6 separate regions of the Homo sapiens genome follow, and all the other regions are linked to region 1. The links are contacts of gene promoters, found by promoter capture Hi-C in blood cells and fetal thymus (Javierre and others, 2016). All regions are on one chromosome and are shown on one strand. Each heading gives the region's core, a stretch centred on a gene start or on the middle of the fragment in contact. The rest is flanking DNA. Distances are from core to core; before and after follow the strand shown. Region 1 holds the start of CCND1 (cyclin D1). Region 2 holds the start of MRPL21 (mitochondrial ribosomal protein L21). Region 3 has its middle 33 kb from the start of MRGPRD. Region 4 holds the start of MRGPRD (MAS related GPR family member D). Region 5 holds the start of TPCN2 (two pore segment channel 2). Region 6 has its middle 9.8 kb from the start of MIR3164.

The links. Contacts are between HindIII fragments. The CHiCAGO score rates a contact against its expected background, and 5 or more counts as called.
Region 2: the fragment with the promoter of MRPL21 here is called in contact with the fragment with the promoter of CCND1 in region 1 in 3 of 17 cell types (megakaryocytes, M1 macrophages and total B cells); the score reaches 7.1 in megakaryocytes.
Region 3: a contact is called between a fragment that was not itself captured here and the fragment with the promoter of CCND1 in region 1, in 1 of 17 cell types (M1 macrophages). The highest score is 5.4, in M1 macrophages.
Region 4: a contact is called between the fragment with the promoter of MRGPRD here and the fragment with the promoter of CCND1 in region 1, in 1 of 17 cell types (monocytes). The highest score is 5.1, in monocytes.
Region 5: the fragment with the promoter of TPCN2 here is called in contact with the fragment with the promoter of CCND1 in region 1 in 7 of 17 cell types (activated CD4 T cells, non-activated CD4 T cells, total CD8 T cells and 4 more); the score reaches 8.9 in activated CD4 T cells.
Region 6: a fragment that was not itself captured here is called in contact with the fragment with the promoter of CCND1 in region 1 in 16 of 17 cell types (naive CD4 T cells, activated CD4 T cells, erythroblasts and 13 more); the score reaches 16.0 in naive CD4 T cells.

What each region holds. Positions count from the first base shown.
Region 1 is chr11:69,639,185-69,643,597 of GRCh38, forward strand. It overlaps CCND1 (cyclin D1), which reads left to right and starts at 1,972. Exons shown (of 5, transcript NM_053056.3): 1 at 1,972-2,327; 2 at 3,847-4,062. The coding sequence starts at 2,130. RefSeq lists enhancers at 1-735, 2,243-2,945 and silencers at 3,568-3,707, 3,798-3,857, 3,988-4,247. The HindIII fragment of the contact is 14,749 bases long and covers 1-4,413 here.
Region 2 is chr11:68,901,519-68,905,931 of GRCh38, forward strand. It overlaps MRPL21 (mitochondrial ribosomal protein L21), which reads right to left and starts at 2,314. Exons shown (of 7, transcript NM_181514.2): 1 at 2,205-2,314. The coding sequence starts at 2,292. It overlaps IGHMBP2 (immunoglobulin mu DNA binding protein 2), which reads left to right and starts at 2,373. Exons shown (of 15, transcript NM_002180.3): 1 at 2,373-2,520. The coding sequence starts at 2,435. RefSeq lists enhancers at 2,187-2,914, 2,346-2,465, 2,796-2,855. The HindIII fragment of the contact is 5,018 bases long and covers 1-2,769 here.
Region 3 is chr11:68,946,165-68,950,577 of GRCh38, forward strand. No RefSeq gene overlaps it. Among named protein-coding and RNA genes, the nearest start is that of MRGPRD, 33 kb to the right of the region's middle. RefSeq lists an enhancer at 472-1,335. The HindIII fragment of the contact is 1,232 bases long and covers 1,666-2,897 here.
Region 4 is chr11:68,978,669-68,983,081 of GRCh38, forward strand. MRGPRD (MAS related GPR family member D) reads right to left here and starts at 2,318. Exons shown (of 1, transcript NM_198923.2): 1 at 1,353-2,318. The coding sequence starts at 2,318. The coding sequence ends at 1,353. RefSeq lists an enhancer at 1,298-1,807. The HindIII fragment of the contact is 14,944 bases long and covers 1,015-4,413 here.
Region 5 is chr11:69,047,144-69,051,556 of GRCh38, forward strand. TPCN2 (two pore segment channel 2) reads left to right here and starts at 1,789. Exons shown (of 25, transcript NM_139075.4): 1 at 1,789-1,963. The coding sequence starts at 1,855. RefSeq lists silencers at 1,527-1,746, 1,867-2,036, 2,117-2,216 and an enhancer at 4,193-4,413. The HindIII fragment of the contact is 3,554 bases long and covers 1,529-4,413 here.
Region 6 is chr11:69,090,778-69,095,190 of GRCh38, forward strand. No RefSeq gene overlaps it. Among named protein-coding and RNA genes, the nearest start is that of MIR3164, 9.8 kb to the left of the region's middle. The HindIII fragment of the contact is 2,289 bases long and covers 586-2,874 here.

The sequences.
Region 1 (4,413 bases), core at 722-3,221:
CTCCCTCCTGGACCCAGAGCCGGTTGTGCCGGAGTGGGCGAGCCTCTTTATGCCCTGCTGCCCCTAGCCGACTTCGGCCCGCTTCGCGCCTCGGGCTGGGCCAGGGCGCACGCGGGGCTCGGGGCCCCTCGCCCCACGGGATGGGAGAGGCCGGGTGATAGCTCCGGGCCCCATAAATCATCCAGGCGGCCGCCGGGTCGGGATTTTATGAATGAAAAAGCAGCTGGGCCGCCCTTGTGCGCGGGCTGATGCTCTGAGGCTTGGCTATGCGGGGGCCAACGCGATTGTGGGTGCTCGGGGAGTGGGGGGGGGCACGACCGTAGGTGCTCCCTGCTGGGGCAACCCATCGCTCCCCATGCGGAATCCGGGGGTAATTACCCCCCCAGGACCCGGAATATTAGTAATCCTAATTCCCGGCGGGGGAGGGGGCGCGGGAGGAATTCACCCTGAAAGGTGGGGGTGGGGGGGGTCGCATCTTGCTGTGAGCACCCTGGCGAAGGGGAGAGGGCTTTTTCTATCAGTTTTCTTTGAGCTTTTACTGTTAAGAGGGTACGGTGGTTTGATGACACTGAACTATATTCAAAAGGAAGTAAATGAACAGTTTTCTTAATTTGGGGCAGGTACTGTAAAAATAAAAACAAAAGTTAAGACAGTAAAATGTCCTTTTATTTTTTAATGCACCAAAGAGACAGAACCTGTAATTTTAAAAACTGTGTATTTTAATTTACATCTGCTTAAGTTTGCGATAATATTGGGGACCCTCTCATGTAACCACGAACACCTATCGATTTTGCTAAAAATCAGATCAGTACACTCGTTTGTTTAATTGATAATTGTTCTGAATTATGCCGGCTCCTGCCAGCCCCCTCACGCTCACGAATTCAGTCCCAGGGCAAATTCTAAAGGTGAAGGGACGTCTACACCCCCAACAAAACCAATTAGGAACCTTCGGTGGTCTTGTCCCAGGCAGAGGGGACTAATATTTCCAGCAATTTAATTTCTTTTTTAATTAAAAAAAATGAGTCAGAATGGAGATCACTGTTTCTCAGCTTTCCATTCAGAGGTGTGTTTCTCCCGGTTAAATTGCCGGCACGGGAAGGGAGGGGGTGCAGTTGGGGACCCCCGCAAGGACCGACTGGTCAAGGTAGGAAGGCAGCCCGAAGAGTCTCCAGGCTAGAAGGACAAGATGAAGGAAATGCTGGCCACCATCTTGGGCTGCTGCTGGAATTTTCGGGCATTTATTTTATTTTATTTTTTGAGCGAGCGCATGCTAAGCTGAAATCCCTTTAACTTTTAGGGTTACCCCCTTGGGCATTTGCAACGACGCCCCTGTGCGCCGGAATGAAACTTGCACAGGGGTTGTGTGCCCGGTCCTCCCCGTCCTTGCATGCTAAATTAGTTCTTGCAATTTACACGTGTTAATGAAAATGAAAGAAGATGCAGTCGCTGAGATTCTTTGGCCGTCTGTCCGCCCGTGGGTGCCCTCGTGGCGTTCTTGGAAATGCGCCCATTCTGCCGGCTTGGATATGGGGTGTCGCCGCGCCCCAGTCACCCCTTCTCGTGGTCTCCCCAGGCTGCGTGTGGCCTGCCGGCCTTCCTAGTTGTCCCCTACTGCAGAGCCACCTCCACCTCACCCCCTAAATCCCGGGGGACCCACTCGAGGCGGACGGGGCCCCCTGCACCCCTCTTCCCTGGCGGGGAGAAAGGCTGCAGCGGGGCGATTTGCATTTCTATGAAAACCGGACTACAGGGGCAACTCCGCCGCAGGGCAGGCGCGGCGCCTCAGGGATGGCTTTTGGGCTCTGCCCCTCGCTGCTCCCGGCGTTTGGCGCCCGCGCCCCCTCCCCCTGCGCCCGCCCCCGCCCCCCTCCCGCTCCCATTCTCTGCCGGGCTTTGATCTTTGCTTAACAACAGTAACGTCACACGGACTACAGGGGAGTTTTGTTGAAGTTGCAAAGTCCTGGAGCCTCCAGAGGGCTGTCGGCGCAGTAGCAGCGAGCAGCAGAGTCCGCACGCTCCGGCGAGGGGCAGAAGAGCGCGAGGGAGCGCGGGGCAGCAGAAGCGAGAGCCGAGCGCGGACCCAGCCAGGACCCACAGCCCTCCCCAGCTGCCCAGGAAGAGCCCCAGCCATGGAACACCAGCTCCTGTGCTGCGAAGTGGAAACCATCCGCCGCGCGTACCCCGATGCCAACCTCCTCAACGACCGGGTGCTGCGGGCCATGCTGAAGGCGGAGGAGACCTGCGCGCCCTCGGTGTCCTACTTCAAATGTGTGCAGAAGGAGGTCCTGCCGTCCATGCGGAAGATCGTCGCCACCTGGATGCTGGAGGTGCGGGGCTTCGGGCGGCTCTCTTAAGACTTCCCTGCAACTTGTTGCCCAGACCCACGTTTCTTTGCTACTCACCCCCCTCCCTTCTCTCCCGCTAGAACTTTGAAGTTTGCCGTGGTGTTTCTAGGGATCCGTATTTTCAAAATAAAAATTGCGGGTATTTTCTGAAGGAGGAAGGGGTGGGGGTGGGGGTGCTAGAAGTAGCGTTTCGTGGGAGGGGAGAAGGGGGTCCGGGAGGGGTGCCTTCGGGAGAAGCCAGTGCCAGGGGCACCCCAATGGGCCCGAGGGTGCGGGCTGGCAGGCTGGGTGCGCTTTGTGTCCCCCGCCTGCGCCCCAGCCCGGCTGCGCCTCAGCGGCCGGGAGCCGCCAACTCCGGGGGGAGGGGGCATAGATTTGATTTTTAAATTAATATCCATGGACACGTATGCAAGGGCCGCTCGTGCCAGTATTATGCGCCATCTTTGCTCTTTTATTGCAAAGCAAAAGTGTTTATTAATAATTGGGGGCAGGGTGGGGGCGGGGAGCGGCCGCCGGGCGCTGGGGCCGCAGCTAAGGGCCGCGCGGCTGCCGGGAGCCCGCGGGAGGGGCGCAGGGACGCGGCATGGGTAGTTTTGGGGGGACGCCGCTAGGGAAGGGGGGGCCTTTGTTCAAGCAGCGAGTCCCGGGGCGCCCCGAACGGGCAGCCTGGGCCGGAGAGCACGGCGAGCTGCAAGGTCGCGTGGCCCCCAAGACGCCAGGGCTTGATCCCCGTCTGCAGGGATATCGGCTTGGAGGACCTTCTCCGAGCGAGCCGGGGGCCTGGGAGCACATTTTCAGACCTTCGGTGGGCGCCTGAGGGGCCCGCAAGTATTTTAAAATAATTTTTGAAAGTGCGGCGTGGTGCCCTTGCGAGAGGGAAACGCCGCCCGCGCCCAGGGGGAAGGGGGGGCCCCGGAGTTTGAATTCCTGGGGCTCCCCCCGGAGCCTGTAACGAACTCCCAACCCCCGGCCTGGGTAAAGGGTCGCCCGAGGGTCATTTTCAGGGTTTTTTTATGCACTTAGTTATTTTTTTAATATTTTTAAATATTTTTTGAAAAGATGACGTCTGGGGAAATGCGGCGCGGCGGCCTGGGACGCCACCTTTGTGTCTCGCAGGCGCGGCGCCCAACCCCGCGGCCCGTTCCGCGGCCCCGCACCCCAGTTGGTGTCGACCCCCAGTCAGAGGGACCACGGAGCTCCAGGGCGGGCCAGGGTCCCGGGGGCCGGCAGCCCGCGCCGCCGCGCACGCCGCCCAGCTGTGCCCGCTCCCGCCCCCACCGTGCCAGCCTCGCGGGGACTTTCCCTTTCAGTTTCGGGGAGGGTGGGTACTGGGGACGCGCGGGGGAGGGGGCGCATCACGGGAAGCTCCTGCCGCCCCCAGCCCCGACCCCTCGGCGCCCTCCAGACCTGGCGGCCCTGCCAAGCGCGATGGGGGGTGCGGGGGCGTGCGGGGGGGCGGCGCGACCTGGCGGCGGCGGTCACGGGCCCCGTGCCTCCGTAGGTCTGCGAGGAACAGAAGTGCGAGGAGGAGGTCTTCCCGCTGGCCATGAACTACCTGGACCGCTTCCTGTCGCTGGAGCCCGTGAAAAAGAGCCGCCTGCAGCTGCTGGGGGCCACTTGCATGTTCGTGGCCTCTAAGATGAAGGAGACCATCCCCCTGACGGCCGAGAAGCTGTGCATCTACACCGACAACTCCATCCGGCCCGAGGAGCTGCTGGTAACCACTGGACCCCGCCGCCCCCCGCCCCCCGCGAGCCGCACGCAGGACCACGGGGCCGGGGAAGGTGCAGGCGGTGGCGGCCGGCCCGCCTCTGACATATCTGCTCCTCCGAGGGAGGGCGGCCCCGCCGCCGGGCGTCCCTGTCCGGGGAGCGGGCGGGATCCTAGCCGCCCTCGTCCCGCCGCCCTGTGTGCGCTTGCCTGCGACTCCCACCGCGTTCGCGCCCCGCGGTGTGGCCGAAAAGTGGGCGGCGCGCGCCCTCCAGCGGCTGCACGAGGAGCGCCGCGCTCGGCGCTGAGCCTCCAGTTCCAGGTGGTGGGAGGTCTTTTTGTTTCCACTTGCAGAGTC
Region 2 (4,413 bases), core at 1,064-3,563, 740 kb before region 1:
TATAATTTACACACCATAAAAACCACCTTTTTAAAGTTCACCCATTAGCACCAGCTCCCCATTTGCATCTCCTCGGCTGCTTTCTCCTCTCCTCTCCCATTTGGGCATCCGGGGCTCAACCCTTGGCCTTGACCTCCTCTCCGCCCATGGCCATTCCTCTGGTGACTGCATCCAGTCCGATGGATTTAAACACCCCCAATGTGCTGGTGACTCCCAAGTTTACACCTCCAGCCAGGGCTTCTCTCCTGGTTTTGCATACCCACCTATCTATCTGCCTTAGCCACTCGTGTCTGACGAGCACCTCACACCTCCAGAGGCTCCTCATTTCTTCCCATGCCTGCTTCTCCCACACTCCTCCCTCTCACATGAGGGCAACTTCATCCTCCCAGTTGCTCAGGCCCCAAACCTCCATCAGTTTTGACTCTTCTCTCGCACACTACTCAGTCAACCCATTGGCAAATCCATCCCACTATTAAAAACTTAGCAGGCTTCTGTACCTAATTTGCTTCTAGCTTTGTTTTTGGGTCCCCAGGGAACAAACAGTCTCCTTCCTCTCCCACAGGATTTCCTTTAGGTAGTCCTAGAGACTGTGACTGTGTACTTCCATCACGTCTCCTTTGCTCACTCTTCAAGGCCCCAGCTGCTCACTGTTTTGGTCACCTTGTCTCTACTCGCTTCACTGTGTGTCTTTCTCTCCTAATGCGTGAGTCTGTACTTGAACATAGCATTGGAGGGGTGGTTTCATGTAGGTAGGTAGAATGGAGTAAGTCCCACTGCTTTTGTAAAAACTTTCCTGCCTACTTAAACCTAAGTTTTATTATGGAAAATGTCAAGCATACAAAAGTAAAGAGAACAGAATAGTGAACTCTCTCAATTATCCCTTTCCAGGTTCAACAGTTACCAACTCATGGCCAATTTTGGCATCTACATTGCCTCTGGCCCAACTCTGTGATTATTATTAATTTCTTAATAGACTTTATTTTTTAGCACAGTTTTAGTTTCACACCAAAATTGAGTGGAAGGTACAGAGAGTTCCCATATGTCCCCTGTCCATGTGCCCACAGCTTCCTATCAACATCCCTCACCAGAGTGGTACAATCTTTACAATTGATGAACCTACATTGACACATCATTGTTATCCAAAGTCCATAGTCTACATTAGGGGTTCACCCTTGGTAGTGTACATTCTATGGATTTGGACAAACTTATAATGACATGTATCTACCATTATATCATACAGAATAGTTTCACTGCCCTAAAAATCCTCTGAGCTCCACCTATTTATCCTTTTCTCCCCCAATCCTCTTACCCCCCATGTAACTTTTTACTGTCTCCTTAGATTTGCCTTTTCCAGAATGTCATAGTGGGAAACATACAAGATGTCCCCTTTTCAGGTTGGCTTCTTTTACTTAGTAACATGTATGTAAGTTTCCTCCATGTCTCTTCATGACTCATTTCTTTTTATTGCTGCATAATATTCTACTGTATGGATGTCCTACAGTTTATGTAACCATTCATCTCCTGAAGGACATCTGGGTTGCTTCCAAGTTTTGGGAATTATGGTACTATTCTTTTAATATCGTCCAATATAGAGTTAGATCCAGTTTTCCATTTTTGGGGGTCATGGTGAGACATGAAACCCAGGTTTAAAACATACATAAACACTCATGCACACAAATACACACTCCAACCATTTTCAAGCAGAGATTTATAGAGTTTTTAACGGACATAACCTTTTTGGAGCCTCGTATCAGCCCAGCGCCTTAAATACGGCTGTTTCTTTTGCAGAATGAGTTCAGATTAGGCGAGGATATCCATCACCATTTTTCAGACCAGCTCGCAGCCTGGGGGCAGTGGTTCAAGCACAGGCTTTGGAGCCGAAATGACTGCGCCTGAAGTACTCTTCTTCCACTTCCCCGCTGTGTGACCCTGGGCACGTTACCTAGCTCCTCTGAGCCTCACTCTTCTCCCCCATAACATAGGGCCTATACCAAAGTTCAAGGGCTATTGTCAGTATTCAGGCTACTAACTGAAGGAATCAAAATCTGAACCTGGGTTCCCCCGACTCCAAAACCCGTGCTATATTCACCACAAATGCGATCAACACACAAGGCACCAGGTCGGACCCAGGCACATACGTGGCGAGACCGCAGGGAGCAGCGCTCGCTCTGCGTCCTCCCTTCCTCCCATATCCCAGGTCTCACCTGCTCCGGGCCCCGAAGGTCTCAGGATGCTGTGGCTGCACGCGGACGCCAGCCGCCCTAAGGTGACCGTCAGGGAAGATGCTGCCATGGCCGCAGCCTCGGCCGGAAACGGAAACGACGCGAACCGCGTGCGTAACGCACGGGCCCGGCGGGGAACACCGGTCCGCTGTAACACCGGCCCGGCGCAGAAGCGGGACGTCGGCTTCTAGGGGCCCAGGCCGGCGGCGGCGATGGCCTCGGCAGCTGTGGAGAGCTTCGTGACCAAGCAACTGGACCTGCTGGAGCTTGAGAGAGACGCGGAGGTGGAGGAGCGCAGGTACGGGAGGCCGCCGGCGCCGCTCCCTCGCGGTCGGTCCCGCCGTGTCCCGGGCAGAGTCTCCGAGGGGCTCGGCCTCATAGTCTGGGGCGGGAATTTCGTCTCCGACCCTTCGAGTCAGGGGCAGGGATCGTCCGTCCCCTGCTTGGCCACCTCCCGAGTTGTCAGTCTCATCACTTCCTGGGCAGCGCGTTCCGTTTGGGGACCCTTAAGAAGCACTTTGATTTCCCGACCCGAGACCCCCCACTAAGCTTACACTCCTGGGCCCTGGCCCCGACCCCAGTTCCACCCGCAGCGAGTTAGCAGCCCTTTCCCTTATTCATTCAGTAAACATGGTTTGCGCCCATTCTCAGTCAGGCCCCGGCAGCATGAGTCAGGTGCACTGGCTGCCCCCGATCCGGCCAGCGGCGGGCTGGGCATAAGCAGAGAGTCCCTTCCCCTCCAGTGCGTCCAGGGCCGGCTGCGTGCGTGTCGCGGGGAAAGAGCCTGGAGGAGGAAGGCCCTTCCCTGGGGAGGGTCATGGTGGCTTCAAGGAGGGAGTGGTGCCTGAAGGAAAATTGGAGTTAAGCTGGTGGGTGCGGAGTAGGGTGGGGAGCCGTCCTGAGAGGTGTGGGGAGCCATGTGAGAGCCGGGCTTGTTTCCGAATGGGACTATTTACTTGTCCAAAACAATCAGAGCTAACACTTACGTACTTTCCATGCGTTAATTCTTTTACACCTCATCCCATGCCAACCCTACAGTGTAAGTTTCTTTTTTTTCTTTTTCTTTTTTTTTTTTTTAGACAGAGTCTCTCTCTGTCGCCCAGGCTGGAGTGCAGTGGCACGATCTCGGCTTACTGCAGCTTCCATCTCCCGGGTTCAAGCGATTCTCCTGCCTCAGCCTCCTGAGTGGCTGGGACTACAGGCGCGCCACCACGTCCTGCTAATTTTTTGTATTTTTAGTAGAGACAGGGTTTCACCATGTTGGCCAGGATGGTCTCGATCTCCTGACCTCGTGGTCTGCCCGCCTTGGCCTCCCAAAGTGTTGGGATTACAGGCGTGAGCCACCGTGCCCGGCCGCAGTGTAGGTTTCTGTTACTGTCATTTTCCGTCTAAGGAGATGGAGACAGAGAGGGGTTAAGTAACTTGCCCCGGGGTGACACAGTGTAGCCCGATTTGCTGTCAGGCAGTCTGCTTCCAGAGTTTGCAGTCAGCCATATGTGGGTAGGATTTGTCTGAGATGCTTTTGATCATGGCAATGGAGAGCTTTTGCAGTTATGTTGAGTTTCTTAGAATCCCAGCTGTTTCATTTATGGCTGTGTGACTTTGCAGGTTCTGTCTCTGAGCCTTACTTACTTCATCTGTAAAACTGGGATGATTCCCACCTCACAGGCTTGCTCTGAGAATGAAACGATCCCCTGTCAGTCAGGTGCTCAGCGTGGTGCCAAGGACAGAGTCAGCCCCCATGGCAGTGGCTCTTTCTGAGGATGCTGAGCAGACTGGCAGGGCGAGCCTGGGAAGGGCCTGGCTAAGGAGCTAGTCTTCTGTTCTGTGTATGAAGGATGGGCCATCAGCGGGGTTAAGCAGGTGAGGGAGGCGAATAGCTTTGCATTTTAGGAGGATTTCTTGGGTCTCCTGCTTTTGATTGGACGTGGAGAGGCCAGAGGTAAGGTAGTTGAGAGGCTCTGTTTAGTCCAGGTGAGCAGTGATGTGGATTTGAACCGGGGCTGTGGCAGCCAGGATGAGAGGCAGAGAAGTCCAGGTAGAAATGGGAGGGGCCTGATAGGACTTAGTGACAGATGGGAGGAGAGAGGGGAATGCTGATTGAAAGATCTGTCTCAGGTAACTGAGAGAAGGGTTGTGGCATTAACTGCCCTAGGGGGATGTAGGAGGAGCGGGATTGGGAGTGGAGCCA
Region 3 (4,413 bases), core at 1,032-3,531, 690 kb before region 1:
ACTTTGGGAGGCCGAGACGGGCGGATCACCTGAGGTCAGGAATTTGAGACCAGCCTGGCCCAACATGGTGAAACCCCGTCTCTACTAAAAATACAAAATTAGCCGGGCATGGTGGCACATGCCTGTAATCCCAGCTACTCGGGAGGCTGAGGCAGGAGAATTGCTTGAACCTGGGAGGCGGAGGTTGCAGTGAGCCCAGATCGCGCCACTGCACTCCAACCTGGGCGACAGAGCGAGACTCTGTCTCAAAAAAAAAAAAAGAAAGAAAAAGAAACAGCTGGCCGAGGAGGGGACGCTGTGGACCTGCTAGGGTCCTCGTCTGGTCAGGAGCAGGGGCGGCCTGGAGCCTTTTTTCCTGTGGGCCAAAGGAACAAAAACGGCCAGTTACGAAGTGGGATCTGAGCCAGGCTCTCACTATGAAACTAGATGGTAAGGCAGGCTTTCTGATTCATCAGAGGAAAAAAAAAAAAAGCTGTTCCAGTTACTATGGCTGCATAACACATCTACCCAAAACAGCCATTTATCACATTCATGGGTTCTGTGGCTCAAGAATTTGGACAGAGCACAGTGAACATGGAGATTCGAGAGGCCGGTGCTTGTCTCAAGGTGGCACCGACCCTGAGGTGAAATTTGGCCCTGGGGCTGCGGTAGGGTCAGGCCGACCTTGTCCCCTGCTGAGACCCCATGTTTGCTTAGCTCCCCAGCACCCACCCTGAGAGTCGCCCAGTGAGTCGCATGCCCCCGGCTCAGGCTGCCTTCTGGGCACCGGACTTGAGCGTCAGTCCCCAGCCTCGCAGCCCTAGGTGCCAGTCATGTGCTGATTATCTCCAGCTTTGATCCCTCCCCACACTCCAAATACCACTCACATTTCTCCTGGGATGTTTAGTAGGCAGGTGAGTGCAGCGCCTCCAGAATCCAGTGCCTGGTCTGCCCCGGGGAGTGGACTGAGCGCTTCCCTCCCCACAGGTAAATCCATATGCTAATCCCCAAACCTGCGAATGTGACCTTATCTGGGAAAAGAGTCTTCGCAGATGTAATTAAGTAAAGGTTCTTGAGAGGAGATCATCCCGGGTTACCTGGATGGTCCCTAAATCCAATGACAGGTGTCCGTCTAAGAGACATGTGAGAAGAGAAGGAGGCTGCCTGCAAACACAGGCAGAGGCTGGCGTGGTGCAGCCACAGGCCAAGGAACGTGGAGCCCCCAGAAGCTGGAAGTGGCAGGACAGGGCCGCCCCTCGAGATTTTATCTTGAAGAGAGAGAATCAGTTTCTGGGTTTGTTGTTGTTGCTGTTTTTTGAGATGGAGTTTTGCTCTTGTTGCCCAGGCTGGAGTGCAGTGTCGCAATCTCAGCTCACTGCAACCTCCGCCTCCTGGGTTCAAGCGATTCTCCTGCCTCAGCCTCCCGAGTAGCTGGAATTACACCTGGAATGACAGGTGCCCGCCACCACACCCAGCTAATGTTTTTATACTTTTAGTAGAGACAGGTTTTTGCCATGTGGCCAGGCTAATTTCGAACTCCTGACCTCAAGTGATCCACCCGCCTCGGCCTCCCAAACTGCTAGGATTACAGGCGTGAGCCACCGCACCAGGCCGTCGCTGCTTTTGAGTCAGGGTCTCAGTGTGTGACCCAGGCTGGAGTGCACTGGTGCGATTATAGCTCACTGAAGCTTCAGCCTCCAGGGTTCAAGTGATCCACCTGCCTCAGCCTTCCAAAGGGCTGGGATTACAGGCGTGCGCCACTGCCTCTGGCCTTCTTACATCTTTTTTCCTGTTTTCTATCTCTCCATCTCTTCCTTTTTTAAACAATGAGATGTTCCTCAGCCTTATTTTCCAACCATTTTATTTTTGTTTAGGTTTTAAAAATTCACACCATTTTCCTTTCAGCATCGAAGAGCCCTTCCCTCATGTCCCTTTTTGCAGTGCTCTCCCTGTGGGGCTGCGTCTTCTCTTTTCTGTCTGTGGGTGTGGTTTTGTATTGTTTGCTGCTTTCTTTTTCCTGCAGTGTTTCGATTACAAATGGCTTCCGTCTGCCTTTCGCATCGTGGCTTTCTGCAGATTCTGGTAGTTGTCCCCTCCTATCAGCCAGGGACTGACTCTCCAAGACCGTGCGGAGGGCTCGCTGACTGTGGGCTTCACTGAGGCATCAGCTGCCCGGCCGTTGAGCCAGGGACCAGAAGTCTTTCCCCCTGGATGTGCCAGGTTGCAATCACAGTCTCTGTTCATACACCTGCTTACTCACCCTCCACTCAGTACGGGGTTCCCCCGCCCAGCTATGCCTTGGGACCCTCAGGCAGACTCATTCTGTTTTACCCACTGCAGAGCCTAGTCGGGTATTTGGTCTTTTCTCAGAGTAGAGGAGGAGGCTTCTCTGAGTAGCAGATGGGATTAGAAGATCTGATTGCTGCTGCTTTCATAAAAATTGTAAAATATCTATAACATGAAATTTAACATTTTAACCATTGTGTAAGCAAGTGTACAACTCAGCGGCATCCCTTACATTCCCAGCATTGTGCAACCATCACCACCATCTGTCTCCAGAACTTTCTCATCTTCCCACATGGAAACTCCATCCCCATCAAATACCAACCCCCCAGCCCCTGGAATCTCTGTTCATTTTCTGTCTCCATGACTGATTGCTTCTTTTAAAGACTTCCATCCACCCGCCTTATTTTAGCTCCTTCCCACCCCACTTCTTGGGCTCCCAAGGCCCCCAGTTCCTGAGCCTTTAGGTGATTCTGTGGCATCAATTTATTTAGTGGCCTTATGTAGATGTGTGTGTTCAATCCGCTAACTTTACATGGATGTTTCTCTAGATCAGGGGGTCCCAGGGGTACGGGTCCATGACCTGTTAGGAACTGGGCCTCACAGCAGGAGGTGAGTGGTGGGTGCACCCGTGAAGCTTCATCTGTATTTACAGCCACTCCTCACTGCTCGCGTCACCGCCCGAGCTCCGCCTCCCGTCAGATCAGCGGCGGCGTTAGATTCTCATAGGAGCGCGAACCCTATTGTGAACTGCGCATGCGAGGGATCCAGGCTGCGTGCTCCTTTATGAGACTCTGATGCCTGATGATCTGTCACTGTCTCCCATCACCCTAAGATGGGACTGTCTAGTTGCAGGGAAAGAAGCTCAGGGCTCCCACTGATTCTACATTATGGTGAATTGTAGAATTATTTTATTATATATTACAATGTCAATAATAGAAATAAAGTGTGCAATAAATGTCATGCGCTTGGGTCATCCTGAAATCATTCCCCCTGCCGCCCCACGGCCTGGCCCATGGAGAAATTATCTTCCACGAAACCGGTCTCTGGTGCCAAAAAGGCTGGAGACTGTTGCTCTATAATATTTAAGTTATCTTTTGCAGAGACTTTGTTTTTTGAGACAGGGTCTTGCTCTGTTGGCCAGGCTGGAGTGCAGTGGCACAATCACGGTTCATTGTAGCCTCGACCTCCTGGGCTCCAGAGATCCTCCCACCTCAGCTTCCTGAGTAGCTGGGACTACAGACACATGCCACCATGCCCAGATAATTTTTTAAAAAAATTTTTAGTAGAGATAGGGTCTTTGTTGCCCAGACTGGTCTGCTGGGCTAAGTGATTCTCTCACCTCAGCCTCCCAAAGTGTTGGGGTTACAGGCGTGAGTCACCACACCTGGCCCTTTGCAGATACTTTGTAAACAACCAGTAGAATCATTTTATAATCACATTATATTACATAATCATTTAATGTTAGTGCTTAATGACAAAAGTTGGATATAAAACTACAAAATCAGCATGCTCAACGTACGCCAAACACACATATATGCATAGAAAAGATGGAGCTGGGTGTGGTGGCGCACACCTGTAGTCCGAGCTACTCAGGAAGCCAAGGCAGGAGGATCGCTTGAGCCCAGGAGTCCCAGGCCAGCCTGGGTAAACATAGTGAGACCTTGGCTCTAAAATTAAAAAAAGAAAAAGAAAAGATACAAAGGCATATGGCCATTGTAAACACCTCTGATCTTTGGGATTTGGTGTGATTCTTGGTCTCTCGTTTATAGCTAAAAAAAAAAAAAGTTTCTCCAATGATGAATGTTGGTTCTATAATCAGAACAGGACAATTCCTGCTGGTTTTCCAGTTAGGCAGCTGATGGGGTCGCAGCTGCTCCCATTTTTCAGCAAGTGCCAAGGAAAGGCCAGATTTCCAGTGGGTCTGGGGTCCTCCACATTCTTTCTCCATCCCAGGCCTGTGTGGTCTCGGTGGCTGTGGGCTGGGGTGAGCCAGAGTTGGGCAGTGAGGAGAGGGAAATTGGCCCAGTTTGTGTCTTAGAAAAGTCCCTCTGGTGGCTGCCTTGAGGAGGTGTCTGAGGTGGAAAACCTGCCAGCAGCTATAGTCTGGAGAAGTCAGAGTCAGGTGGGGTACACAGGGGCGCATCTGCT
Region 4 (4,413 bases), core at 1,068-3,567, 660 kb before region 1:
GCACAGAACCGCAGGCTGTGAGAGTTGATTCCAGGGGTGTATTTTATAGCTTACTGATGAGCTGTCCTCTCCTGTCTCAGGATCTGACCTGTGCCCTGGCTGGCTCGAAGGCTCCATCTTTTGGGAGGAGACTGAAAACTGCTTCAGAAAGATGCCAAGAGAAAGAACAAGATCATTTTCACCTTCTGACATGAAAAACAGGATGACGCAGCCAGGTGCCAGGCTTGCAGGCCAGGCTGTGGTCTGGAGACAGGATCTTTCCACTTCCGTCTTTCCTCCTCCCTCACCTCTTTAAGTCCAGGACTGACTCTGCAGGGACCTCCTGTCTTGCACCCCCTCCATGCAAGCCCCGAGCCTCGAGGCTGGATGCTGGGTGGTAGGAAAGGGCTGTGATTTGTGGAAAGTGCAGGAAACATCTGCCTTGTTCTGGACCCAGGGGACTGTGGGAAGGAAAGGGGGAGGGAGGAGAGTGGAGCCAGCTGATGTGTGTCCCAGATGTTCCGTCTTTGGGCTTTTGGGCAAAGTGAGGGGGCCCTGGGAGGGACAGTCAGTGAGGTATGAGACTCTGGCTCTGGGGGACACTGCCTGGAAGGCTGCCCTCCACTGCCTGGGGCACTGTCCTATCAGCATCTGCTGGAGTGACTGCCAGTGAAGCCAGGCAGAGGCTCTTCCCTTCCCAGTGCGGCCTGGAGGAAAGCGAACAGGCCTGCCCTGGGTGCGAGGGGTGACAGGGTAAGGCGACCTCATAGCAAATGCCAGGGGTCAAGGGCTGGCCAGGGGTCAGAGGGATGGTGGGGCAGAGTCTCATGGCCCACAGCCAGCGAGATCCGGGTCGGCGATGGCGACACCGTTTACTTGCCAGACTTCAGGCACACCTGGGGAAAGGTGCACGGGGGCACCACCTTGGTGGCCAGTTGATGCCACCCAAGGACCAGCATAGGGCCAAAGATCACCCGAGGTCACCTGCCTCCTCCACAAAGATGCCGTCTTAGGCAGAGAAGGTGGTTGGGAGAAAGCTTTCATATTCAAATGAGATTCCTGTTATCCACCCATAGATAACCAGCTTAAAGCAGGGTAGGGCTAAAAGCTAATATTTTCCCCCAACCAGATAATCTGCTATAAACAAATAAATTGCATCTTCCAGCGGGGTTGCATTGTGAGATCCAGGACACAGGTGTTGTGGGGAGTTTTGACATGCAGGGAAGTGACCCCCACATGCAGCTGCAAAGTCCTTGGGGCTCCCCCAAGAAGGCGGGCCAGACACTTGGCAGGGACGAGGTGGGAGGCAGCTCACGGCTCGGGAATCTCCAGGGCATGGGCTCGCACAGGTGGGAAGCACCTGTGGGCGGCTCTCAAGCCCCCATCTCATTGGTGCCCACGGTGGGCGTCTCCCCACCTTCCAGCTCGGGCTCCTCGCGAAGCGCCTGTTGGAGCACAGTCCCCAGGGACCTGGTGGGCAGCCTGTGGCTCCTCCGGCTGCCCACCAGGAAGTAGATGACGGGGTTGGCGCTGCTGCTTACGGACGAGGAGAGGCGTGACAAGCTGAAGCACAGGACCTGCATCTCGGGCGGCAGGCTCAACCAGTAGAGCACAAACCAGTAGATGCTCAGAGGCAGGGAACAGATGAGGAACACCAGGACAGAGGCCAGGACCACCACGAACAGCCGTGTGGGCTGCCGCCGCCACTGCTGGGAGCTCCTCCGCACCCAGACAAAGAGGGTCAGGCTGGACAGAGTCATCACTGGGGTTAAGACCCCCATGATGAGGGCGGCCTGGACCATGTCCACCCTGAAGCACCGATCTTCATTGAATTTCAAGAACTTGCTGCAGAAGGAAGAGGTCAACCCGTTCATCAGGAGACAGAGTGTCCACAGCAGGCCACACACCCAGGCTGACAGGTGCCTGGGCCGGTGACACTTGAACCAGATAGGGAAGAGGACAGAGAGACAGCGCTGGGTGCTGATGGCCGTCAGCAGGCTCAGGCCCACTGTGTAGGCAAAGTACATCAGTCTCTTCATCAGCTCGTGGACCTTGTCAGTGGTATTGACCAGGGGCTGGGTTTCCAGGCTGAGCGTGGAAGCCATGCTGAAGAGGAAGAGGAGGTCGGCTGCCGCCAGGTTGAGGATATAGATGCAGAAGGGGTTCCTGTGCATTCGAAAGCCCAGCAGCCAGATCACCATGCTGTTGCCTGCCATCCCGCACAGGCAGGTGAACATGGCCAGGGAGCTCAGCACCAGGTAGGCCGTGTGCACTGTGCTCCCTCTGGAATAGTTTAGGGCTGACTCCACGGTCCCACTGCTATTCAAAGTCTGGTTCATCCCTACGAGAGGAAGATGTACCAATGTGAAATTCTGTGTTGCTGGGACCACGGGGGACCCCTGGGTGCCCCTCGAATTTCCAGCTTCAGAGCTCTCCCCTCCAGGTTCTTTATGTAACAGACCATGACCGGGAGGCTTAACCTTCCCCCACTCCTGTGACTCACTCAGCCCAGATCTGCCTCCAGGGTCACCTTTATAGCTACAAAGCTGTTATAAATACCCTTTATCAGGTTAAAAAATTCTCTTCTATCTTGCTTTGAATTATTTTTTAAATCATGGAGAGGTATTGAATTTTATCAAATGCTTTTTCTACATCTATTATAGAAAAATCATTATTATCAATAGATGTAGAAAAACTATTTGATAGAAACATTTGAAATCATTTTTTTTTTCTCCTGTAATTGTCAAACCCTGTGAGTTAATTAAAAAAACAATAGACCTTAGGGCTGGGCGTGGTGGTGCATGCCTGTAACCCCAGCACTTTGGGGTTTGCTTGAGGCCAGGAGTTTGAGACCAGCCTGGGCCACATAGCAAGATCTCATCTCTACAATTTTTTTTTTTAATTAGCCAGGCATGGTGGCACACACCTGTGGTCCCACCTACTTGAGAGGCCAAGGCGGGAGGATCGCTTGAGCCTGGCACATTGAGGTTGTAGTGAGCCATGGTCCCGCCACTGCACCCCAGCCTGGAAGACAGAGCGAGATGCTGTCTCTTAAAAAAAAAAAAAAATTAGACCTCAGGGCAAAGTGTAGAATTAACTACACTCCTTAGTTTAAGACACACCATGAGCATCAGCCCATTAAAAACCCTCCATTTATTCAAGTTTCCTTCCCCATCCCATCTTAGCTGCCTTTTTCCTCCTGCCGCTTGCATCCATCCAACCTGTTTCACGCAAATCCTTGGACACCTCAATATCTTTCAAGATGGAGTGGTTGCCCATTGTGTTTTAAATTTACGTAAATGTTGTGATTTAGAATTAATGATGGGTTTTTTATTTTTCACTTGACAATATGTTTGTAGGATATATCCAGGTGGCTGTATGCAAAAGTTGTGGTTTAAAATGTCATCATGCACATTGATCTGTTATCCATTCCTTACTGTGGATCCTCAGCTTGCTTCAAAATTCCCATTATCACCAAAACACTGTGTTGGACATCCTCATGCATGTACCCATTGGACTTGACTCAATATTTTTCTGGGATACATTCTTGGAGGAGGATTGCTCGGTCATAGAACATATGCACATTTAGTCTCACTAAATATTGCCTGGTAATTCTTTTTCTGAGTGGCTGCTTCAGGTTTCACCTGTACCAGCAGAATAGGAATGTTTACGTTTTCCCATTCTCTCACCAACACTTGGTGTTATTTGTTTTTCTAACTTTTGCCAACCTGATGGTTGCAAAGTGATATACTGTAGATGTTTTAACTTGCATTTCTGTGATTACAGTGAGTTTGAGCATCAATTCATATATCTGTTAGCCATTTGGAGTTCCCCTTCTTCAAATTGTCTGTTCACACCTGTTGTCCATTTTTCAATTGGGTTTCTTTTCTTTTCCTTTCTGATTTGCAAGAGTTGCTTGTATTTCTAGGTATTAATGCCTTCCTGGATTTAGACATTGCAGATACTTTTCTCTGAGAACGCTCTGTTTTTTATGGCAACTTTATCTATTGTGAACTTTGGTTGGAAGACATCCTAAATTTTGGTATAGCCAACTCTTCAGAATTTTTTTCTCTGAAATTTTGTGTCTTCTAAATCTGAAAGTATTCTGTCTCCCTGGATAAAAAATGTAGTCTTTTCTATTTTCTTCTATTACTTTTATAGTTTTTCCCATTCAGATTTTGTTCTTGGATCCAACTGGAATCTATTTTTTATGAGCTTGATTTTTCCTCCATAGTATGGATCAGCTTTCCTAACACTGTCTCCTAAACAGTCTGTCCTTTCCCTATTGACTTATTAAGTTCTCATTTACACATGGGACTGGGTTTTTAATTTCATTCTTCATTCTGTGTCATTGGTTTGTCTCTCAGTTCCTACAACATTAACACAGTGTTTTGTTTTGTTTTTTTTTTTAAATATGTCTTTCTGCTATGTCAT
Region 5 (4,413 bases), core at 539-3,038, 590 kb before region 1:
ATGTGGAGAGATAAGAGACAAAGGTTGCATTCTTGTGAGTCTTTGATCAGACTTTCACTGAAATACACAATTTACAGGTTGCGGGGGTAGAGGAATAGTCACTTATGCCTTAGTCTGGCTCGGTGAATCTGCACTTTTATACCAGAGGAAGCAATCAGGTGAGCAGAGGGATGACTTAGAGTTCCATCCTTTGTTTGGAACCTGTGAAGATCAGTTGTCAATGTACATTGTTAGGGTAAAATTCAACAAAACTGTTTTAGGGTAAAGATCTTGGGTGCCCACGAAAAATTTCCTAGCGGGCAAATTGTGAGGGAGGTATGTAGCTTTTTAAATCTTCGTAGCTATTTTATTAAAGAAGAAAAGGCGAGGCAGTTTGCCCAACGCAGTTCCCAGCTTGACTTTTCCCTTTGGCTTAGTGATTTTGGAGTCCTGAGATTTATTTTCCTTTCACAGTTATGATGGTAAATTTTATATTTATTTTAAACCCTCCCCCCTCCCCAAAAGAGGGGGAAAAAGTAAAGAGGTATGGCAGAAGGGGAAGTCACAGAGATTGGAAGCGTCTTGCAGCACCTTTTTTTTTGAGATGGAGTCTCGCTCTGTTGCCAGGCTGGAGTGCAGTGGCGCAATCTCAGCTCACTGCAATTTCCGCCTCCCGGGTTCAAGCGATTCCCCTGCCTCAGCCTCCGAGTAGCTGGGACTATAGACACGTGCCACCACGTCTGGCTAACTTTTTGTATTTCAGTAGAGACGGGGCTTCACCATGTTGGCCAGGATGGTCTCGATCTCCTGACCTCGTGATCCACCTGCCTCGGTCTCCCAAAGGGCTGGGATTACAGGCGTCTTGCTGCATCTCGAAGCGTCTTCAGCGTGCTCTTGCTTGCTGGCTCTGATGATGGAGGTGTTCAAGCCATCGTGGAAGGAATGCAGTGGCCTCTAGGAGTGAGAATGACACCAGCCAACATCCAGCAAGAAGACGTGGACTTCAGTCCTAGGCCCATGGAGACAATTCTGTTAACATCCTGGATGAGCCTGGAAGTGGGCTTTCCCCAGAGTCTGCAGATAAGAGCCCACGGCAGCTGACATTTTGACTCTAGCCTCGTGAGGCCCTGAGACAGGAGGTTTCCTGCCCCGCAGGACTGAAAGATGATGAATGGGAGTTATTTTATATTTTCAGATTGTGGTAATTAGTCACTGTAGCAATAGAAAACGAATACAAGGTCTTTATGCATTAATGTTGAAAACACTTTTTATATACGTTGTAAATATTTTTTAAGTGTGTCATATGTTTTTAAACTTTTCCCTTAATGATATTGAATCCTCCTAATTTCACCATCAGAGGGTAAACTCCAGTTCCATTCTGGGGGGAGTCCTTTGCAGTCACCCCGTGTACTCAATACTCACATGCATCAGAATCACCCCGAATGCTTGTTAAAACACAGATTCCTGGGTCCTCCCCGCAGAGTTGCTGATTTAGTAGGTTTAAGGGCCCAAGAATTTGCATTTCTAAAATGTTTCCAGGTGATGCTGAAGCTTCTGGCCGGAAAGACATCCTTTGAGAACATATTTCCTCCCCAGCCCTCGGCCCTTAAGCCCCAGAACGCTGCCCCGCCCTGGGTGGAACGAAGCTGAGCTCCACCCTAGAGGGGCGGGGCCCTTTAGCTCCGCCCCACTCAGGAGAACCCCACCCCTCCCTCCCCGTTCTCATTGGCTGGGACTGCAGGGATCCCCTGCGCCACAGTGCCGTGCGCGCGTCAGCAAAAACGCCAGGGACGGGGTCTCCGCGCCTGCGCAGTGAAGCTGGGCGCCTTCGGGGCTTGAGCTTCTGAGGGTCGGGTCCAGCGCGTGGGCTGCTGGATGGCGGAACCCCAGGCGGAGTCGGAGCCCCTGCTGGGCGGGGCCCGCGGCGGTGGCGGCGACTGGCCGGCGGGGCTGACCACTTACCGCAGCATCCAAGTCGGCCCTGGTGAGCCGCCCGGACCTGGGGAGGGGACTGGCCCGGGAGACCAGGGTCGCGCGTGGGGGTCCCGCTGTCCCAGCACCCCGCTTTCTGCCGGGCGCGCCCCCACCAGGTTCGAGTCCGAGCGGGGCCCGGGCCGCGCCGGGTGCCAGGCGAGCCGGTGTTCTGAGGGCGAGTGGGCTGCGTCCTGCGGACCCGGACCGGGGTCAGGGCAGAGCTGGGGTCTCTTCCGTGTCGCGTCCTGATCCCGACCAGCTGGGCGAAGAGGCCCTCGCCCAGCCTTGGGCAGCCCCGAGGGAACCGGCCACCTGCGGCAGGCACCCTCCGTGTGCCCGGGCGGGCCCAGACCCCATACTTCCCGACTGTCGCCGTAATGAGGGTCGCCTAATTGACTCAGAGAAGGCAGCACTTTGATTTTTCCCGTTTCTTCTGGAAAAAGCAGAGGCTCACAGAGAGGCGTTACCCTACCCAAGGTCACACACCCAGTAAGTGGCCGAGGTGGGATTCGAACCAGTTGGGAGCTAGGAGTCCTTTCTTTGTAGGGTGCCTTTCCCCGTCCCACTTCCCGTGGGGCTGGGGCGGGCCCCCTAGACGGGGGCGGCTTCCTCTCCTTGCCCTCTGCCACCCCAGAGTCCCCTCTGCACTCCCTCCTGCCCTTCCCGTTTTTTGTCCTGGTCTGAAGATTGCTGAATCCGCCCCCCGAGGGTGGGGTGCGTCCGCCCCTCGCTGACACCAGGGGAATGAGATTCTGGATTAAGAGGTGGAAGGACCTTAGCTTCACTTCACAGATGAGGAAACTGAGGCCCAGAGAGGCCCTGAGACCTGCCCAAGGTCACAGCCCTCTGTTCTGGTGCGGCTGCTGCTCGAACCACTCTGAGAATTCACACCTGGCTCCTTCCCTCTCTGGCCTCTCTTTCCTTCTTTCCTCCTCTGTCTGGAAGGAACTGGGTTGGAATCCTGGTGCCCACCCACTGGTCTGTGGCATGTGCCCATCCATGGAGTAATGAGGGGCCAAGGAGGGGACCCTGACGAGAGATGAAAAACCAGAGGCCAAGGTGGCCACCCTGTCTGCTCACCTCAGAAGCTGCCTCCAGGAAGTTCTTCAGGTGCTTCCTGGGACCAGTCAGGAAGGAGATCTGCAGGGAGCAGCTCTGGCAGGCCCCTTGATGAGACGCCCAGCATATGGCACCGTTCAGGGAACACAGACTTTGTGTCTAGGGGTCTGGGCGCCTTTCTGGGGCTGCACTGGCTGTGTGACCTTGGCAGGTTGCTTAACCTTTCTGTTTCTTTTTTGAGATGGAGTATCACTCTGTCACCCAGGCTGGAGTGCAGTGGCGTGATCTCGGCTCACTGCAGCCTCTACCTCTGCTGGGTTGAAGCGATTCTCCCGCCTCAGCCTCCCAAGTAGCTGGGACTGCAGGCGCCCGCCACCACACTTGGCTAATTTTTGTATTTTTAGTAGAGATGGGGTTTCACTGTGTTGGCCAGGGTGGTCTCAAACTCCTGACCTCGGGTGATCTGCCTGCCTCGGCCTCCCAAAGTGGTGGGATTACAGGCGTGAGCCACTGTGCCTGGCCATGCTTCACCTTTCCGAATCTCAGTAAAAGGGAGATAATACTAAGGACTGCCTGGCGGGCATTGTGAGGATTCAGAGAGAATCCAGAGTTTGTCCTCAGCACAGGGCCCGGCGGGCTGGTGTGGGGGCCAGTGGCCGTCCTGGGTAAGCTCTGTGATCATTGCAGGTCCTCCCTGGCAGGTGAGACCCGCTCTGCTGGGCAGTGTGGCTGACAAGAGGAGGCTCTCGGGGAGCGCTCTTTGTCCCTATGCTGTGGCCTCAGCCAGGGCTTCTGAGAACGTGGACAGGACGCTCTGTGTTCTGAATCCCCTTGGCCAGGGTCCCCAGCAAGGACTGGCAGACTATGGAGCCATGGAGACTCCGAAAGGCTCATTCAGTCTCTGTGCTGAGGCCTGTGCCAGGCTTTGAAATGAAGGCCCTGTGCTCTGGTTTGCAAGTCCTGTGGTTGGTCTCTTGCCAACGGGTTGTGGTGAGGGCTGCTGCTGTGGGTGCCCCAAGGACCCCAGTGGACCCTGCTGTTGGGTCGTTTTGACTTGGCCCCACCTGATGGGGCCGGGGTCAAAGGTTGAGAACAGTTGTTTTCTCTTGTTGCTGGGTCAGAAAAATCACACTTTTACTGGTTATCAAACAAGTCAGAGGACAAGGGATTGCGATGCTGTAGAGGCTTTCAGAGTAACTGAATGCTTATGAAGGGCTCACTTAGCAAAGTACTCTGGCTATAGTAAGTCATTCAGTCTGTACTTAGCTCCTATTGGGTGGGGGTCCATGAGGACCTGGAGCACCTAGAGGTTAAGGGACTTGCCCAGGGTCACAGAGGATGATGGTCAGGACCCTACACAGGTTGTGCAGCCTGGAGCCTGGAGCAACAGGGGAGCGGGAG
Region 6 (4,413 bases), core at 480-2,979, 550 kb before region 1:
AAAAAATTAGCCGGGCGCAGTGGCGGGCGCCTGTAGTCCCAGCTACTGGGGAGGCTGAGGCAGGAGAATGGCGTGAACCCGGGAAGCGGAGCTTGCAGTGAGCCGAGATTGCGCCACTGCAGTCCGCAGTCCAGCCTGGGCGACAGAGCGAGACTCCGTCTCAAAAAAAAAAAAAAAAAAAAAAAAGAATTCAGCACAGTTGTTTGCTATGAGATTTAAAAAGTTTTTACTTTATTACTTATTCATTTATTTATTTTAGGGTCTTGCTCTGTTACCCAGGCTGGAGTGCAGTGGTGTGATCATGGCTCACTGCAGCCTCCAACTTGTGGGCTCAAGCAGTCCTCCTACCTTGGCCTCCTGAGTAGCTGTAACTACAGGCACATGCCACCAGGTCTGGCTAATTGTTTTATTTCTTGTAGAGATGGAGTATCTCTATGTTGCCCAGGCTATTCTTGAATTCCTAGGCTCAAGTGATCCTCCCACCTTGGCCTCCCAAAGTGCTGAGATTACAGGTGTGAGTCACTGCACCTGGCCTGCCCTGAGATTATATACTGAAATCAATTGCTTTTCTAGACACTAGCAATAAGCTTATAAATTATATTCAAGGATTCAGTTATATTCATTTTTTAAAAGATATTTAAATAAGATTAAAAATTCTTAAAGTTTCTAAAAATAAATGGAAGGAAAGATATTCAAGGCCTATATACAGAAAACTATAAAACTTCATTAAAGCCCATGACTGTAGATACAAGTAAATTGAGACTATGTAGTTTTCTGTTGCTGTGTAACAAGTCCCCACATACTTGGTAGCTTATCACAACCTCATTTCTTAGCTCCAAGCTGCAGGTCAGACATCCAGGCACGGCTTGGTAGGTCCTCCGTTCAGCAGAAATTGGGGTGTCAGTGGGCTGGGTTCCTTCTGGGAGCTCCGGGGAAGAGTCTGCTCCCATACTCACTTGGGTTGTTGGCCAAATGCAGTTGCTTGCAGGTGTTGGGCTGATGTCCGTTTCCTGCTGGCTGTCAGCCAGGGGCTGCTCTTAGGGACTAGAGGCCACCCACATTCCTTGCCATAGGGTCCCCTCCATCTTCAAAGTCAGCAACAAAGAAGCTGCCTCACATTGACTCCCACTCACCCTTTGAATCTCTAGGAAAAGCCTGTGTGGTTTACAGTTTCACCTGATTAGGTCAGACCCACCAGGACAACTGCCCATCCTTAAAAGTCCTGTGTGCCACCTAACATATCCCAATTCCGGGAGTGACTTATTCACGGGAGGAGATTATGTAAGGGTAAGGATCACTGGGGTCATCTTGGAATTCTGGCCACCACAGTTTTTCTATCTTCATGGTCAAAAAGAATTGATATTGTAAAAATGTCAGCCTTCTCCAATTTCATCCATACATTCATTATAATTCTAAACATAATGCCATTTTTTTCCCACAAAATTTGATAAGTTGATTGAAAAATTAACATGAAAGTACAAAAACAAGAGCAAAAATCCTTTCTGTGGGAGAATCCAGTTGAGGGAATTGCTGCTCCATTATTCCTGACTTACATTGCTGGGACAGCAGCCACAGCAGTGTGGTCCTGGTGCAGGAGCTAATCGGCTAAGGGGAGAGAGCCCGGGAGCCCCGCACACCGGCGCAAGGGCGAATCTACTAAGGGGAGAGAGCCCGGGAGCCCCGCACACCGGCGCAAGGGGCGGATCGGCTAAGGGGAGAGAGCCCGGGAGCCCTGCACAAATGCGGAACTGCGACGGATGGCAGCAAACCCGCAGGGAAGGGATTGTTATTTAATAAATGCTGCCAGAAATTCCAGCCCAGGTGGGAAAAGAAAGAAATAAGTTCCCTGTTTCACACCTAACACAAAAGTACATACCGACTGGAGGCGGGCTTAAGTGTGAAAAGCAAGTTTTAGAACGTTTAGAAGATGAACTCAATATATTTAAATTAAGAACTTCTTTCTTTAAAAAAGGCCATAAAATAGGCAAGCCACACACTGGGAGAAGATTTTGGTAACTGAGAACAACTAAGAACTTATATCCAGACCACATAAAGAGTACCTACAAATTAGGAAGAAAAAGACAAAGCAGTAGAAAGTTGGGCTTTTCACAGAAAAGCAAACACCCGGGTTCCATAGCTATGTCAAAAGTTGCTCCGTCTTACTAGTTATTAGGAATATGCAAAATGAAACTGAAACACAACATTTCACTCACTCCATGGTCAAAATGGAAGAGGTTGGACCATCTTAATTGTTAGTACTTACATGTTTATTCTGAAGAGTCAAGCTAAGCTGAAACAACCTCTTTGGAAAATTGTTTGGTGTCATTTCTTGCAATTGAATAGGACATACCTTGGTAATTCTCTGCTAGATACACTCACAAGAGAAACTGCTGCCCGTGTGCACTGGAAGACGGTCGGCAGAGTGATCCTAAGAGCAGTATCAGTACTAGCAACACATCTGCCAGCTGAAACGTCCTCAACAGAATGACAGGTACGCTGCAGCTTGGTGACAGTGGAGTATTACACGGCCGTGAACATGAATGAACTCCAGCTGCAAAGAGCTACCTGGAAGAATCTTAGAAACATAATGTTGGGTGAACAAGTTCCAGAAGTCTCCACACGGCACGGTATTATTCATGTAAAATTCAAAAGCAAGGTTAAACAACATACCATGTAGGCACGCATACATCAGTGATGAGGTTACTTCAACACAAGACAGCCTGAAGCCTGTGGTCCAGTCAGTGCTGAGATTACTTCAACACAAGACTCCCAGAAGCCTATGGTCTGGTCAGTGCTGAGATTACTTCAACACAAGACGCCCAGAAGCCTATGGTCCGGTCAGTGCTGAGATTACTTCAACACAAGACGGCCAGAAGCTTATGGTCTGGTTAGTGCTGAGATTACTTCAACACAAGATGGCCAGAAGCCTATGGTCCAGGGAGCGGCCACCTCTTGGGGAAATGGGGATGGGATGGGAAGGGACTGACTGCCATGAGCAAGTTCCAGGGGAAGTTCTTGTCCTGGCGGGGCTGGGCAGGGCTCATGGTCATGGTATTAACCTTAGGAACATGCACATGTTACATGTGTTCTTTTGCATGTGCCAAATATTAAAAGGAGAGCGAGAGGAGAGGCACTGAAGACAGTGAGGATGGACGGCCCTCAGGGAATCTCGCTGCAAAGGGGAGGCGGGGTCAAGAGGATATTGTGGTGGTTTTCACGTGGGAGGATCCTGTGTGGACTGATGTGGAAGACCCAGGGAAGAGCCAGAGAAGTGACAAAGCAGGAATGAGGAGGCCAGGCAGGGGTCAGCCACAGGGACGTTGCTGGGCAGTGGCAGGAGGTGCAGTGCCAGGGGCAGCAGTGGGGCAGAAGTGGGGCGGGGCTTGGCAGGGCTGGGCAGGGCCGGGCTGGCAGGTCCTCTGCCCCCAGGGCTCAAGCACAGGGCTGACCAGAGCAGCAGTTCTGCCGGCCCCGCAGGCCTGGTATCACTAGTGGGAGCACTCAGTGGCCATCAGGTTCCTCTCCCAGGTTCCCTCCCACATGCTGTCCCCAGTGCAGGTGGCTGGATGGGGTCCAAGACCCATGCCCAGTCTGTCGCTGGGGCCTGGGAGCGGGGTCTTAGCGAGCAGGCTGGGGCCTTTCATGTGGTCTCTGTCCAGCTGGGCACAGCAGGGGGAATCTTCCCTACTGCCAGAACGGCTTGGATTGGGTTTCCCGCCTGAGATAATTAGTGGTTCTTAGGAAAAGGTTAGAAGAGTTCTTGCTTAAAAACCACCAAATGGGACTGGGCACACTGCACTGCTCCTAAAAATCAAAGAGGAGGCGTGGAGCCCAGACAACACTCCTCACATCAAAGTGGCCAGCAGACGGCCCAGGGCAGCGGGCACAGCCTCCTGCACGCCTCTCCCCAGCCCTCTACTCACGTTTCAGGGTGTGTGTGGGGGGCCAGCTATTCTTCTGAGTAATTCAATCGGAGCCTCACAGGGTGGTGGGACCCACACCTGTGGGGGTTCTGGGTAGGCCTGGGTGCCTCCACAGTTCCGACCACAGTTGGCTAATCCACACCTGGGCCTGGGCCCCAGCAGCACCTGTTGCCAGGTGAGCCTGCCTGCCTGCCTCCCAGGCCCTGCAGGTTGTGGCCTTTTTAAGCACAGCTGACGGGCACACTGACTTGTGAGGTGGGCGGGGGCCCAATAACACAAGTCCATGGTGAACATTATAGAGTGGTTCTTATTTCTGAAGCTGAGACCTATGCAGTGCCGGGCAGGTGTCTGCCAGCGCCCCTCAGACATGAGCGTGCGTCAGAACTCCCTGGGGAATGTTGACAATGCAGATTCCCAGGCTCTGCCCCAGAGTTTCTGATTGAGATGGCCAGGCTTGAGGAAGTACACGTGTGAAAAGTTTCAGGTGCTG